5 separate regions of the Homo sapiens genome follow, and regions 1, 2, 3 and 4 are each linked to region 5. Evidence: promoter capture Hi-C in 16 types of primary human blood cells and fetal thymus (Javierre and others, 2016). All regions are on one chromosome and are shown on one strand. Each heading gives the region's core, a stretch centred on a gene start or on the middle of the fragment in contact. The rest is flanking DNA. Distances are from core to core; before and after follow the strand shown.

Region 1 (2,700 bases), core at 1-2,500, 560 kb before region 5:
TTGATCTAAAGTAATGGTAATTGAAAAGGAAGGTGAGGGGAAAGAATAGTAGTTCTTTTTGGTGTCTTTGGGATGGCGATATCTGGATGAAGAAGGACAAAGAAACTCACCACCTGTGAGCCCCTATAGTTCATGAGCAGTAGCTGGAATGTAAATAGTTGGAAAATTAGCAGTATTTTGCCCAGTGACAACCTACTAAAAACCAAAATACTCCTTTTAGGTTTGGCTACTGCCCTCTGTCTTGTTCTTTGGCCATTAGCTTAAATAGATTTATAGCCAGGAATTGTTTTTATCTTCTCCCAAACAAGTAAGTGGAAAGATGAAAAATTACTAATATTTTTTGTCTCTGTTCTCTGTTGTTAGCCACTCATTTATTCCACAAAATCCTAGAGTGCTTAACATCATTGAAATCTAGGTTAACTCATGTAGAATCAACAGTTAGGCTGTGGGCTCCAGGTACTTCTTTCTAGATTTTGCAACAGGTTGAGTTTGGGGAGATGCCCATGTATCCTCTGGAAAAGCAGACGCTATTGTAGATGGAGACCACAAACAACTTTGGCCTAATTCAGTCTCAGGTGGGCATGAGGGCAGGCATTAGAGTTGGTCTTGGTCCAGTCCTAACTCCCTTTTCTTGTTTGAGTCTGCACAGTTGCTAGTGTTACTTGTGGGTTGAAAAGCACATGTAGGCTACAGTGTATGTCTTTTGGAGCTGACTGGGATAAGAGTGAACAGGAAGGTGATGATTGACCTGTGCAGAGCATGCACTGTCGTCTTTGGGGCTGCATTCAGTTTAGTAGTTAGAACATAAATGCATGTCACCATTCCTGATGGCTTTGCTCCTGACAGCCTTATGACAGGGAAATTACCAGCGAGATCCACTGATCCAGCAGTAGTTTGAGAATTAAACATCTCAACCTGAGTCTTTAGCTGTCACTTTGCATTATTTCTTCCACTTATAAAATGGGGCCAGGCACAGTGGCTCATGCCTGTAACTTCAACACTTTGGGAGGCCGAGAGGGGCAGATCGCTTGAGCTCAGGGACCAGCCTGAGGAACATGGCAAAACACTCGTCTCTACCAGAGATACAAAACTAGCTGGGCATGGTGATGTGCTCCTGTAGTCCCAGCTACTTGGGGGTGCTGAGGCAGGAGGAGTCCCAGCTACTTGGGGGCACTTAGGTGGGAGGATCACTTGAGCCCGGGAGATAGAGGCTGCAGTGAGCCATGTTTGTGCCACTGCACTCCAGCCTGGGCAATAGAGCAAGACCCTGTCTCAAAAAAAATAGTAATAAAAATAAAATAAGATGAGACTATTTCTCCCATTATGAGGATAACTCTCTTTTGGTAACTTTGAAAATGCTGTAACAATATTGCCTAGAAAACAGTCATTTGACTTGTGTAGGCCCATGACAAGATGGGAAAAATTAACTCTGAGGCAGGTTTTCTACTTCCTCACTTTTCCTGGTCACCCGTTTGATATAGTGGTTATTGCATCTGAATAATAGTCTGAAAGAACTGAATCAGGCACCCCAAGAATGTCAATTTCTTACATTCTCACCCTAAGGACTCTTAATTCCATCTGTAGTGACCAAGTTATGGCTTAGGAAGTTTCATGTTGGGAAGATGGTACATGGTCCTCATTTATAGCAACCTTTTAGTTAGAAATGAATCATATTTATATTCTATGATGACAGCTGTTCCCTGAGAGTGAAAGGTACATTTTGTCCAGAGGCAGCAATAGAACAGTAGCCTTCTTTGTCCATCTTTTCTCGGCGTAAGACCCAGTTCTGGGGCCTGAAGGCTAATTGGCCCACTTGAAGGAATCTCTGATTTCTGCCTGCATTCCAACATTGGCACCAAAATGTAGCCATGGAGATTTAAGAATTCAGTGCTATGGCTTGCTTCTCTTGGTGTACAAGTTATCCTCTGCAACCTGTGTCTTCAACTTTTTGTAGTTCTCAACTATGTCAGTTATCTCATTATTTTAGGACATTATCCTACTTGAAATATAGTCATTCTCACGTCATTCCTGTCCTCGTTATCCATTGAAAACTGAGCTTTCTCTTCAATTTGGATCGAATTCAAAGATTCAGAAGCCCTAATGGTATGTAATTGAGTGCACTGAGGGCTTCAGTTTTCCCTTAGAGAAAATGGGACAAATACCAGCCTGCGTAGGTGTTTAGACAGGCCAGGAAGGCTTAGGCCATATAGATTCTGAGGACCCAAGCTGAAAATAGTGTCATTTCGGTGTGTACAAGGATCAGGGAGGACGTAGATGTCTCCTCTAGGTTTTATAAGGCCACTTTACAGAAGTAGTTATATAAAAGGTAAACATTTGTGCGTAGGCTGTGTTGCCAGTTTGGGCATTAGGAGAAATTCTAATTCCTCATTTTCCCTTTGGCTATTAATTCTGTTTAATATGCTCAGACTGACCATACCACCACCCGCAGATGGGTATTGCAGCATTGGAACAGGTGCTGAGTATAGTAGGAACTTTGTTTGGTGGCCATGTGACAGGTGGCTTAATAGACCCTTTTGGGTAAAACTTCTTAACTGCATTTAGGTTTCTTCCATGCTCTGCTTTCTGTTCTGGCCTGGCCACGTGACTCCTGCTTAGTGTTAGTATGTTTCCTGGTTCCTCACCTATGGCTGTCATGCGAGGAAAGACTTAAAATCTCGAGTTTTAGTACACTTGGAAAAC
Region 2 (2,757 bases), core at 95-2,594, 610 kb before region 5:
CCACACTGTGAGGTCGGGTTCCTTTTCTTTCCTTTCCACAGATGAGAAACAGAAGCTTGGAGAGGTTAAATAATGTGTTTCAGGTCACCCAGCTAATCAATGGGAGCTCCAGGATTCTAGGTTAGGCCTGATTCCTAAACAGCTCCCCTTAACTACTCTGTTCTATTTCCCCTAAACACGTGTTCCAGGGCATCACCAGAGGAGAATATTTTATTAAATATTAGCCAAATCACCTGAATCCACTGAGAAACAGAATGTACATCTTAACGTTCTCACTTGCTGAAAGTTCCATGCTGTGATGTGTTGTTACAGAAAATGATATATCCACCCTCCCCCACTTTTTTCCTTTTATACTCTAATCTCATGACAGATTATACAATCCCCTTCTTAAAGAAACATTCTCCTTTTTGAAAGGAATATTTGGCACTTTGGGAGGCTGAGGCAGGCGGATCACATGAGGCCTGTAGTTCGAGACCAGTCTGTCCAACATGGTGAAACTCCGTCTCTACTAAAAACACAAAAATTGGCCAGGCATGGTAGCGTGCACCTGTAATCCCAGCTACTAGGGTGGCTGAGGCATGGAATCGCTTGAACCCAGGCAGAGCTTGCAGTGAGGGGAGATCCTGCCACTGCACTCCAGCCTGGGTGACAGTGAGACCCTGTCTCAAAAAAAAAAAAAAAAAAAGGAGTATCTGGGGTCTGAGATCCGGGATCCAACAAAAGGCTTTTAACTCTTCTTTTGCAGCTATAGGTGATGATAAATCTACCCATCTCCTTTAAAGACTGATGTTGTCCTGGATAGCTTAAACTTTCTACCACCCCTCTAACAAACTGCTAACAACACTTGTTTCTTAAGCCACAAAAAGTACTGCTGGCCTGAAGCCACCTATCCCACCAATGCCATCTTCCCTGACAGGAAAATTCGAACACCACTCCTCATTCCCAGAGGGTTCACTGGGAAACTGAGGTGTCAGGAGTTAGTTTCACTGGGTACTGATCAGTGTCATCAACTTGATAGCTGCGGGATGGTGAGTCCACTGTCCTCAGATACTACAGAACATACTATTAAGTGGGGCTGTCAGCTCAAAAATCTCACAGACCTGCTTGCCATCTACAGCTGTTTAGCTTATCATTAAACCTTCCTCTCTTTGTCTAGCCACAAATAGCTGCAGATGGACTGAAGGATAAATGAGAGACCCCAACTATCCCATCGGAATCTTTTCCCAGTGATGTTTAAAAATATGAACCAGGTCTGTATTGGTGCCACCCTGGCTGGAGCAGAAGACATACCAGATGACCTCCAGATAACACTCAAAGCCAGTAAGAGTGCTTCTACAATGACCCCCAAAAGACACACTCTGTCTAAGGCACAGAAAGCTCCAGCACAAGGTGTTTGGCTTATGGATTTTTAAGACTTAGGATGATTAAAAGGAAACGATGGAAAGAGAACAGCCTTTCCTGACCCAATTTAAGGTGTCACGTGGAGAGCCTGTGCAGGACTCACAAGACCACTTGAGTCGGTCAGGACAGGGCCAGACGCTCATATGCCCCACACAGGCTCTGAATGAGGTCAGTAAGCAGGGATGTGTCAAAGTAAAAGGAATGAGTCTAGCTTCTGTGCATTAGCGATCCTTCGGGGGCTGCTGGCCCTTGCTATATGTTTATTAATTCCTAAAAAAATGCACTGTGGCCGGCCTAGTTTTACTTAATGCCTAATAAAGGGAAAAACTGTTTACATAGCATCCCTGGGCCTGACAACTGAGCAGGTGAACTTAGCAAGATCCTTCACTTTCAAAGATGACACAATCCAGCAGCCTGGGAGGAAAACAATTCCTCTAGAAGCATGCCATTCCCAGGTGAAAGCGGCAGCAATTGAACATTGTGTTAAATAAGACAAAATCAGGATAAGAAGGGATCAAACCCGAGGGGGAGAAAAGTTCCAACTACATCCTTGGCTACTGGGGTTTGTTGCATAACGTGCAAAGGATAAATGGGTAAGTCACCGCCCAATTCATGTGCACTTCGTACAGTCCAGATCTATGTCTATATATAAACTCCCGGCCTGCTTAACATTCTCCCCAGGGTACATAAATGCAGCCCGAGAGAATAGCCAGAGTCTTCAGCAAGCTCCCAGGGAGACGTCTCCTTCCTCGCCTGCCCTGCTTCTGCGAGTCTCACTTCCATTCCTTGCTTAGGGGAGAGTGCTAGATTTTTCCATCAAAGGTCTTGTCACCAGGGTCTGTTTTCTCTCTCGTCTTCACTGGGAGGTAAGACATTCTGTGGTTCTATTAATAGGCTCAGCTTTCTGACCTGCAGATGAGAAACCCTGGATGTAGCTATGGTGACCTCATTGATATGCCAGGCAATTTGTGTTAGGGACAGGTTTTAAGTCTCAGACTGAGGCTATGACTAAATGCTGACATTCATATCTAGAGTACATACTGTGCAAGTTACCATGTAAGAGCTTTGTGTGTTTCATCTCATCAACTAGCTGAGACAGGAAGCATTGTCATCCCCATTTTATAGATGAGGCAACTGAGGCTCAGGTCAATTCATGTATCCAGCAGGTAAGCAGCAGAGCCAGGATTTAAATGTGTAACCAGTGCACTGCGCTGCTTCCTCACAGAAGCTTCACTGGGTGATCAAGTTCAGATCTACTCACTTGGCGAAGCACCTGGCAGATTCCTACCCACCATGTAACACAGAGGTCATGTCTCAGAACTGTCACATCTATTTGCCACAGCTTTCCCAAACAGA
Region 3 (2,874 bases), core at 83-2,582, 580 kb before region 5:
ACCTTTGTTATTAATGAAAAGCTTTTCCCCTTCTAATTTCTTATCTGTGGATTGATAATAGTGCCATTCATTTCACTTTGAGAAATACGCAGAACTCATTGTCCAGTGGTCACTGCTTTGTTAGAGTATAAGTTATTGGCCTCAATAGTTTGTTCTCTGGTCTCCTCAGTTAAAAAGGACTTTTTTATGGGTCTAAGACAGGCTAAAGGTAGTATGTGGACTTTAATAGATACATATATCCAACGGGCAATATTTGACACTAGGCAAGCTGAAGAAAGTGTGAATTTTGAATATCTTATGTTTTGTGGAAGGTGAGGGATGAGTGCTTCCCCCCCACACACATATCAATTAGTTATTTTTGACAAAGTTAGTGTTAGTGTCATCTGGAAGCTACAGAAATTATTTAAAAAACAAAAAAACAAAAAAACTTTGGCTAGAATTGTTAGAAGCTGGCTTAGTCTGAAGGCACCCAGTACAAATTGTGTTTTAGAATGTTTTAAGAATGTTACTGATTTCGCCCCAAGCTGGCCCATGCACAGGAAGCCCTTCATGTGCACTTTGCTCCTCAAGGAAAATTAATATTTTTCCTAGATGGAACCCTATGGTGCTTATTCCCTGATCTCTTAGAGCATTTGCTGCAAAAGCCTGTTTTTGCCAGAGCTACTTTATTCCTGTAACACAGGGAGTCCTGGGATTCACATTGGCTCTCTTGGGCCAGGGAGAACTCTGGAAAGGTGACTGAGATCAGTTGCTCTGCTGGGAGTTTTGGCTTTTCATACTGAGACAGGCTTTGCACAGTGTCCAGTTCTCTTCCTTATGTCCATCAATAAGTATTTATTTATTGAGCTACTTGTGTTTGCTAAGCACTGTGCCAGGACTAGTGAGGTAAAAGGAAAAAAAAGTGGGTCCCTGTACTCAAAACAGATTCCACTCCTGGTGGGTAGGGGTGGTGGACAACGACAATGTACAGTGAAGGACAAGGAGGGTGTGAAGTGGGAACTGTGGAAATGGTCATTATAAAGCCAAAATTTTTGATTAAGCCTTGGTTACAATTAAAAGAAACAATGGTATCAAGTTGGTTGCTCTGAGAAAAATAAATCCTAGGCTAGTTACTTCCCTCAGTGGGATATGAGGAAGAAGAGGGTGGAGGTTAGGAACACTGAGCAGACAAGTGGAGAAGATCTTATTTAAATTGAAAATCACACATGTTCTCTTTTGTTTACAGGGAAGCAGGAAGTTTCATGAGACAGTCACAGTTCTTTCTGTGCCATTAAACACAAAATTCTTTGAGATAGTTATTCAGTATTAAATATATGTTTCATGTTTAATCTCCCTGGAATGAAACTTTGAACATCAGTGCATGTAAAATGTACTTTTCACTTAATTTGTAGAATTTGATTTTACTTTAATCTATTACTGCATAAATCCGCTGAGAAAAATCTCCGGCCCTTAACTGTGTTTCTGTCTTACTAGCTGAACAAGTAAAATGAATTGTGATGCTGGGGGATTAAAATCCAAACAATTTGATACCTTGTTTCTTCAGTAGAACCCTCAACAGACCTGCCCTGTGCAGTTCCCACCAGCTTCTTTGAACTGAGGCTCTGTGGCCCAGAGAGACCATTTAAATCTTGTGATAATTTTGTATTCATTCAATCCTTTTGTTTCTAAAAGTGGTAGCCATACCAAGATTCTCCAGGATCTAGTCTATCCTATTCTTAAGGGATCTTAAAACAGTGGATTGGTTGCCTAAGCATATAGTACGAAGGGTTTCCTGGTGATGCATTTGGTCTCTGAGCTGTCCAAATCTGCATGTTAGTCCACTACTCAATTTTCAGTGATCATTTTTACATTACAAATTTTAGACACATATACCTGAATTACAGATACTGCATGGAAGGGAATCTCAGTTTGGTTCCATTCGATTATCCAAGATGATGTGTTTCCTTATTCTGTTTACGTGTCATTTGAAAATCCTTGATTTAAAAAAAAAGAAGGCTGGGTGCAGTGGCTTACGCCTGTAATCCCAGCACTTTGAGAGGCTGAGGTGGGAGGATCACCTGAGGTCCGGAGTTAGAGACCAGCCTGGCCAACATGGTGAAACCCCATCTCTACTAAAAATACAAAAATTAGCTGGGTGTGGTGGTGCACACCTGTAATTCCAGCTGCTCGGGAGGCTGAGGCAGGAGAATCACTTGAACCCAGGAGGCGGAGGTTGCAGTGAGCCAAGATTGCGCCACTGCACTTCAACCTGGGTGACAAAGTGAGACTCTATCTCAGAAAAAAAGAAGAATCTTGGTGTGAAGTAGTGCTTTCTAAGGATTTGAGCATTGGATGGGATCAAGTGATGTATATAAATCCTTTCTCTACCTTGAACCACAGGAGCAACTCACCATACCTGGTACATGAATAGAAGAGTGATTTGTCTATAGAGTTGGGATAGTTTGAGACGTAACAGCTATGAAATATTTTATAGTGATTACTTACACACAAAATGTTTTCCCACTCATTAGCCCTAGCTGACCTCACCTTACTTTATTATCCACCCTGTCCTCTCCAGTGTTAGCTTCTCTCCTCATTCTTTACATGCTGACCCTTTTTATGCACAATCCTTTTTGATGGATTTGACTACATGGAACAAGCTTCCTGTGCTTATTTGCCTCACTAATTTCTTGTTGTTAAGTTGCCCCCTAAAAGTTTACTGTCTCTTGATATTCTTTTTCTAACGTTTTTACAAGGGTTAAGCCCTCCTGGTGGGTTTCTTAGAGTGTTTTAATATTTGAAATTATTTATATGCTTTAGGAAGTAGAATCCTTCCCCCTTCTCTATCAGAACAACCCAAGATTATTCTCTTAGTGTGCATTTTCTTCCACTGTA
Region 4 (2,500 bases), core at 1-2,500, 520 kb before region 5:
TAATGAGATTAACGGCTTTTATAGTACAAAGCCAGGACCTATTTTGGCTCCAGGAACCAGGGCACAGAATCCTCTTCAGGAAGCACCCGGAGACTCTGGTGTTGCTTTGCTTCTTTCCTGGGACCTCTACTTCTTTCTGTGGAATCACAAGCACAACCTAACAGGGGGTTCAGGTGTGAAAGTGGCTTTAATAATGAAGTGACAACTAGAGAACCCTGAGGTTTTAGAGTTCAATTGAATTGAGTACATGAGAAATATACAAGATACTCAAAGAGCTGGAAGAATTTGTGAAGCAGAAGAAATCTGAAACCACAGACACTGGATCTGATCTGAGGCCTATGTTAGAACCAAAGGGAGGGATCCTGGAGGCCGGTTCTCCTAGTTAAAGTGATGGGAGCTTGGCAGACGGCATGGAGCACTCAAGGGCAAGCAGCAATCCTGCTTGGCTACTTCCAAAAACATCCACTGCCTACAGCATTAGCCATGGGGCACTGATGCCTAAGAATAACCTGTATCAACATCCACCTGCCCAAATAGCTAATGATGAGACACATTCAACTACCTGTTTTAGCCCTGGTAGGCCTGTTTGGGGCAAAGGTGAATTGAATGTTCTGGAAGAGTCCCCTGACTCTTGGACAAGGCTGTTTTTCAACACATAAGGTTGGTCAAGAGTACCTTATGAAACTCTCACATGCCCAGGGCTCCAACCCAAACCACTTTCATTTCACCTGTTCTCTACGAAGGATTGTGTGAGATGTCAAAGAATGAAGCTGGGTTCCCAGAGAAAAGATATCCCAGTGGCCGGGCGCAGTAGCTCACGCCTGTAATCCTAGCACTTCAGAGGCCGAGGCAGGAGGATCACGAGGTCAAGAGATTGAGACCATCCCGGCCAACATGGTGAAACCCAGTCTCTACTAAAAACACAAAAATTAGCTGGGCGTGGTGGTGCGTGCCTGTAATCCCAGGTACTCAGGAGACTGAGGGAGGAGAATTGCTTGAACCCAGGAAGCGGAGGTTGCAGTGAGCTGAGATCACGCCACTGCACTCCAGCCAGGCGACAGAGCGAGACTCTGTCTCAAAAAAAAAAAAAAAGAAAAGAAAAGAAAAGAAAAGTTATTCCTAGCCCTTTAGCGATTCAGGAATTCAGAGTTCAGGCCGGGCACAGTGACTCATGCCTGTAATTCCAGCACTTTGGGAGGCAGAAGCAGGAGAATTGCTTGAGCTTGGGAGGCAGAAGCAGGAGAATTGCTTGAGCTCAGGAGTTTGAGACCAGCCTTGGTAACAAAGTAAGACCCCACCTCTATTTAAAATAAAAATTAAAAAAAGAATTCAGACTGCCACTCTTACCATGACCCAGACATGAAGGGAGATGCTGAGGGCAAAGTACACAGCTGTCAGGATGATGGTCCCTTTGAACTTATGGAATAGGAGGTTGACCAGGCCAGCCTGGAAGACGAAGGTGTTGAAGAACATGAGGAAAATGATGATGATGTTGAAGAGGACTGCAATATCCTGGATGCTGTAGACATAAAAAAAAGTACAACCAATGAAGGCCTGTGTGAGGACCCAAGAGCAGGTACTATGTCCTGAGGGACACCACGAGGCCTGTCCTTTGTTGTGAGATAGGCATCTGACATCTTAAACCCTCACAGAGATAACATGGGTTTTGGGACCTGAATGACATGAAGCTAAAATTACCTAAAATTACCCACTGGCCCCATCAGTTGGGTTTGCAGTCCATAGTCAAGGCTTTCCTGCTCTAATACTCTTTTTTATTTTTAAAATTTCTTCCATACATAGTCCTATAGAAGATTCTCTGATACTCCTTATTTTTCGAGACAGGGTTTCATTCTGTTGCCCAGACTGGAGTGCAGTGGTATGATCACAGCTCACTGCAGCAACTTCCTGGGCTCAAGTGATCCTCCCGCCTCACCCTCCTGAGTAGCTGTGACCACAGGTGTGTGCCACTATACTCAGCTAATTAAAAAAAAAATTAGCTCATGCCTGTAATCCCAGCACTTTGGGAGGCCGAGGTGGGCAGATCACTTGAGGTCAAGAGTTTGAGACCAGCCTGGCCAACATGGCAAAACCCCGTCTCTACTAAAAATACAAAAAGTAGCTGGGTGTGGTAAATACATAGTGGGGTGTGGTAGCGCACACCTATAATCCCAGCTACTAGGGAGGCTGAGGCAGGAGAATTGCTTGAACCCAGGGGGCGGAGGTTGCAGTGAGCTGAGATTGTGCCACTGTACTCCAGCCTGGCGACACAGCTAGACTCCATCTCAAAAAAAAAAAAATAAAATTATGTTTTAATAGAAACAAGGTCTCACTATGTTGCCCAGGCTATCTGACACTCTTAAACATTTTTTTTTTTTTGAGATGGAGTCTTGTTCTGTCGCCCAGGCTGGAGTGCAGTGGCATGATCATGGCTCACTGCAACCTCTGCCTCCCAGGTTCAAGTGATTCTCCTGCCTCAGCCTCCCAAGAAGCTGGGATTACA
Region 5 (2,815 bases), core at 230-2,729:
GTGCCTGCCCCTTAAGAAGGTCGCAATCCAATTCAAGGTGGATCTACAGGGATTGGGTAAAGGGGTTTTTTGCACACAGGCTTCGGAATCAGATCTGTGCTCAGGTCCTGTGCCTACCACTCATTTAGCCTTGGTTTCCTCACACAAAAAACAGGAATAATAACACCGCCTGCTTCACAGGGCTGACGTGCAGATTAAGCGTGATGACACATGCTGTTCCATGTTTGAAAGGCTGTTGACTGGTAAATCCTTATTAAGGCTGTTGACTGGTAAATCCTTATATAATCAGTGCTCAGTAATACTTTTTATCTTAAAGGCAAATAACTGTAATAGACTATATTGGATGAAGACCTCACTGCTTTGATCAAGTAATGGCTGGTTTACTTGCTTCTGCTTCTCTCACTAGAGAGGGCAGACAACGGTAAATGTCTGTTGAACGAATACAGACCTGAGGTGCTACAGGAGAGGCCCATAGGGACCCTGAGGAGGAAAGGCATCAGAGAAATTGATCTTTGAGGGCCTGGCCCCACCCTCTCCGGGATCCCAGGGCATTTTACCACATTCTGATTGTAATTACCTGTTTGCTAACATCCCCACTAACGTGAGCTCTCTCTAACCCTGGGGCTATTCTCCAGGCTGCAGCAGGGCAAAGGCGGGGTCCCAACACCATAGAGAACGCCACCCCTGTCCATGCTGTCCCCCACTTCACCTTTTCTTGGAGCGGTCCTTCCACACTCGCCCCGATTTGGGCTTCCCCTTCGGGATTACAGGAAGCTCCTCTTTATTCAACTTCTTGGACGCTGGGGCCTGGGATGAAGAACCTTTTCGCTTCTTTGCCCCGAAGCCGCCTGTCACCGTCTCCCCAGCTGGAGGTGGCTTGCTCGGCTCATGCTGACCCCGGGGGGAGCCAGGTGCCCTGGGTGTCAGCTCCAGTAGTGGCTGAGAGGGCTCCGGACCGGGAGCTTGCTGACCGGGGTAAGGCTCTGGTGATCCTGGGACCGGCGGTAGCTGATGCTGGGGGGCCCCCGGGGTCAGCTCCTCCTTATTCTGGGCCAACTCCGAGGCCAGTACTCCCTGGTCCTGAGAACACTTTGGTGCCTCCTCACTTGGCTTCGGCTGACATCGTGGGGATTCAGGACTGTACTCTGGCTGTCTTTGAGGCGACTCCAGGTGTAGGTCTTGCTGACGCTGGGGGGACGCTGCGCCTGGCTCTGGCTGCCCTTGGGGTGACTCCAAGCCTGCACCCTGCTGCAGACGGGGTGATCCTGGGCTTGTCTTCGGCGGCCTTTCGGGGGACCCCAGGCCAGCCCGCTGCACACTCGGAGGAGACCCGGGCTCCCTCGTTTCTTCTGGGTTCGACTCGAACTCCACAAGGGCCCGTCTCGTCCGCGAAACTGAGGTGAGGCTCTCGGGGGATTCGGGCCTTAGGCCTCCCAGCCGTCGGCTGCGCCTTAACGGTGTATCCATGGCTCAGCCGGTAAGTTTCCACACCCCTGCGCACGTGCAGCCCCCGCCGAAACCGGCGCCTTCCTATGACGTCAGGAGTCGCCGCGTCCGTGACGCACAGGAGGGGGGCTGTTGCTGAGGCGGCCATGTTGGTGAGGGGTGGAGAGGCGGGACCGGGGTTGGGGAGAGTGGGGCTCAGCATGCGCATGCGCAATTCGCGCGAGCGCAGTCAACATGTGATTGATGAGCCAGTCTTTTTCCTGGGATTCGCTTTTGCCTTTCTTGCAAAGTTTCCTGGGGAAAGAAGAGCGAGCAAGTAGAAAAGGGAAAGTGGGAGGACCCATTTCAGGGAGAGAACAGAGTCGAAAAAAGGTCCGAGGAGCCCATAGGCAAGGCCCAGTGGATGTTTTGCAGCCAACTCCGGTGCAGTTGGGCAGAGTCCTGCCCTCCTTGGGCCTGTTTTCTCATTTGTAATAGGGGTCATTTTGCACTAGCTTCGTGCATCCCAAATGATCCTGTCAGAGTCCTCCTCCCACCTACCTGAGGGACTGCTACCTGGGGGTCCTGGAGGTGGAAGATCGGTCTTTTCTGTGTTAATTGTTCACACTCTTGATTCTTCCGTCCTGTGCTTCCGTATATAATCCATAGCTCTCCCTCCCTTTTCAGCGTTTTCAACGTTTGTGAGGGAAGTTGAGGTACCAATAAGATGCACCACCTTTGTCCTGTGGCTCACCTGGGCCCTCGACCAGCTGCATATCCTCCCACGTCCCTCTTCTTCTACCCCAGTTCTAGAAACGGGTTGGATCATCTCCGATCTTCCTTTCAGCCCAGACAGTGGTTTTTGCTCGTGTGTGAACCTGCTTCGCCTCCCCTCCCTTCCCTTGCTATTCACCTGTAAATGTACTTTGCTTACTAAGCACTTTGGGACCTCACCAGTGAGCAGGTGTTGACTTCTGGACCTCCCAAGGCCTAGAGAAGACTCTCGGGATGTGGGGTTGGGGAATGTGGGGCTGTGGAGACTTTCGTGTGAGACCTAGGAGTGGGGCTTTGATTTACTTACAGCATGCTTCTTAGGAAGAACATCTTGGAAGTGGCCCAGTTGTGTAATTCTTGGAACTGCCTGGGGTTGGCCATTAAAGGTCCCAGGGCCCCGTCTGACATTCCAGTGGTTTCTTTTAGAAACCATTGTTTCTCCAGCTGCGGGCTTGTGAGAGGGCCTGGGAAATTGTCCAAGAATATCAGGGATCAGAGTGTCCTCATCTTCCTCATGTTCCTGAGTCAAGGAGACCCCTGCAGGGGGGCTTTGCCTGCCTCACTGCTCCTCTCCGGCCATGCAGCTGTCCACAGCAGAAGCAGCCGGGACACCTCC

Evidence for each region. The method cuts DNA at HindIII sites, captures the fragments that hold promoters and counts their contacts. A CHiCAGO score of 5 or more calls a contact.
Region 1: a fragment that was not itself captured here is called in contact with the fragment with the promoter of CCDC86 in region 5 in 3 of 17 cell types (total CD8 T cells, naive CD4 T cells and non-activated CD4 T cells); the score reaches 5.9 in total CD8 T cells.
Region 2: a contact is called between a fragment that was not itself captured here and the fragment with the promoter of CCDC86 in region 5, in 1 of 17 cell types (non-activated CD4 T cells). The highest score is 5.1, in non-activated CD4 T cells.
Region 3: a contact is called between a fragment that was not itself captured here and the fragment with the promoter of CCDC86 in region 5, in 6 of 17 cell types (total CD4 T cells, total CD8 T cells, activated CD4 T cells and 3 more). The highest score is 8.7, in total CD4 T cells.
Region 4: a fragment that was not itself captured here is called in contact with the fragment with the promoter of CCDC86 in region 5 in 3 of 17 cell types (activated CD4 T cells, naive CD4 T cells and naive CD8 T cells); the score reaches 7.6 in activated CD4 T cells.

What each region holds. Positions count from the first base shown.
Region 1 is chr11:61,405,335-61,408,034 of GRCh38, reverse strand. The region is part of intron 9 of CPSF7 (cleavage and polyadenylation specific factor 7); the gene reads left to right. Among named protein-coding and RNA genes, the nearest start is that of TMEM216, 14 kb to the right of the region's middle. The HindIII fragment of the contact is 9,423 bases long and covers 1-2,700 here.
Region 2 is chr11:61,447,490-61,450,246 of GRCh38, reverse strand. No RefSeq gene overlaps it. Among named protein-coding and RNA genes, the nearest start is that of SDHAF2, 19 kb to the right of the region's middle. The HindIII fragment of the contact is 2,574 bases long and covers 58-2,631 here.
Region 3 is chr11:61,423,872-61,426,745 of GRCh38, reverse strand. All of the region lies in intron 2 of CPSF7 (cleavage and polyadenylation specific factor 7), which reads left to right. Among named protein-coding and RNA genes, the nearest start is that of CPSF7, 4.7 kb to the left of the region's middle. The HindIII fragment of the contact is 2,618 bases long and covers 24-2,641 here.
Region 4 is chr11:61,365,064-61,367,563 of GRCh38, reverse strand. It overlaps TMEM138 (transmembrane protein 138), which reads right to left. Exons shown (of 5, transcript NM_016464.5): 3 at 1,348-1,519. Among named protein-coding and RNA genes, the nearest start is that of TMEM138, 3.9 kb to the right of the region's middle. The HindIII fragment of the contact is 5,415 bases long and covers 1-2,500 here.
Region 5 is chr11:60,840,777-60,843,591 of GRCh38, reverse strand. CCDC86 (coiled-coil domain containing 86) reads right to left here and starts at 1,479. Exons shown (of 4, transcript NM_024098.4): 1 at 710-1,479. The coding sequence starts at 1,467. CCDC86-AS1 (CCDC86 antisense RNA 1) reads left to right here. Exons shown (of 2, transcript NR_182293.1): 2 at 1,612-1,786. RefSeq lists enhancers at 1,054-1,283, 1,190-2,389. The HindIII fragment of the contact is 9,112 bases long and covers 1-2,815 here.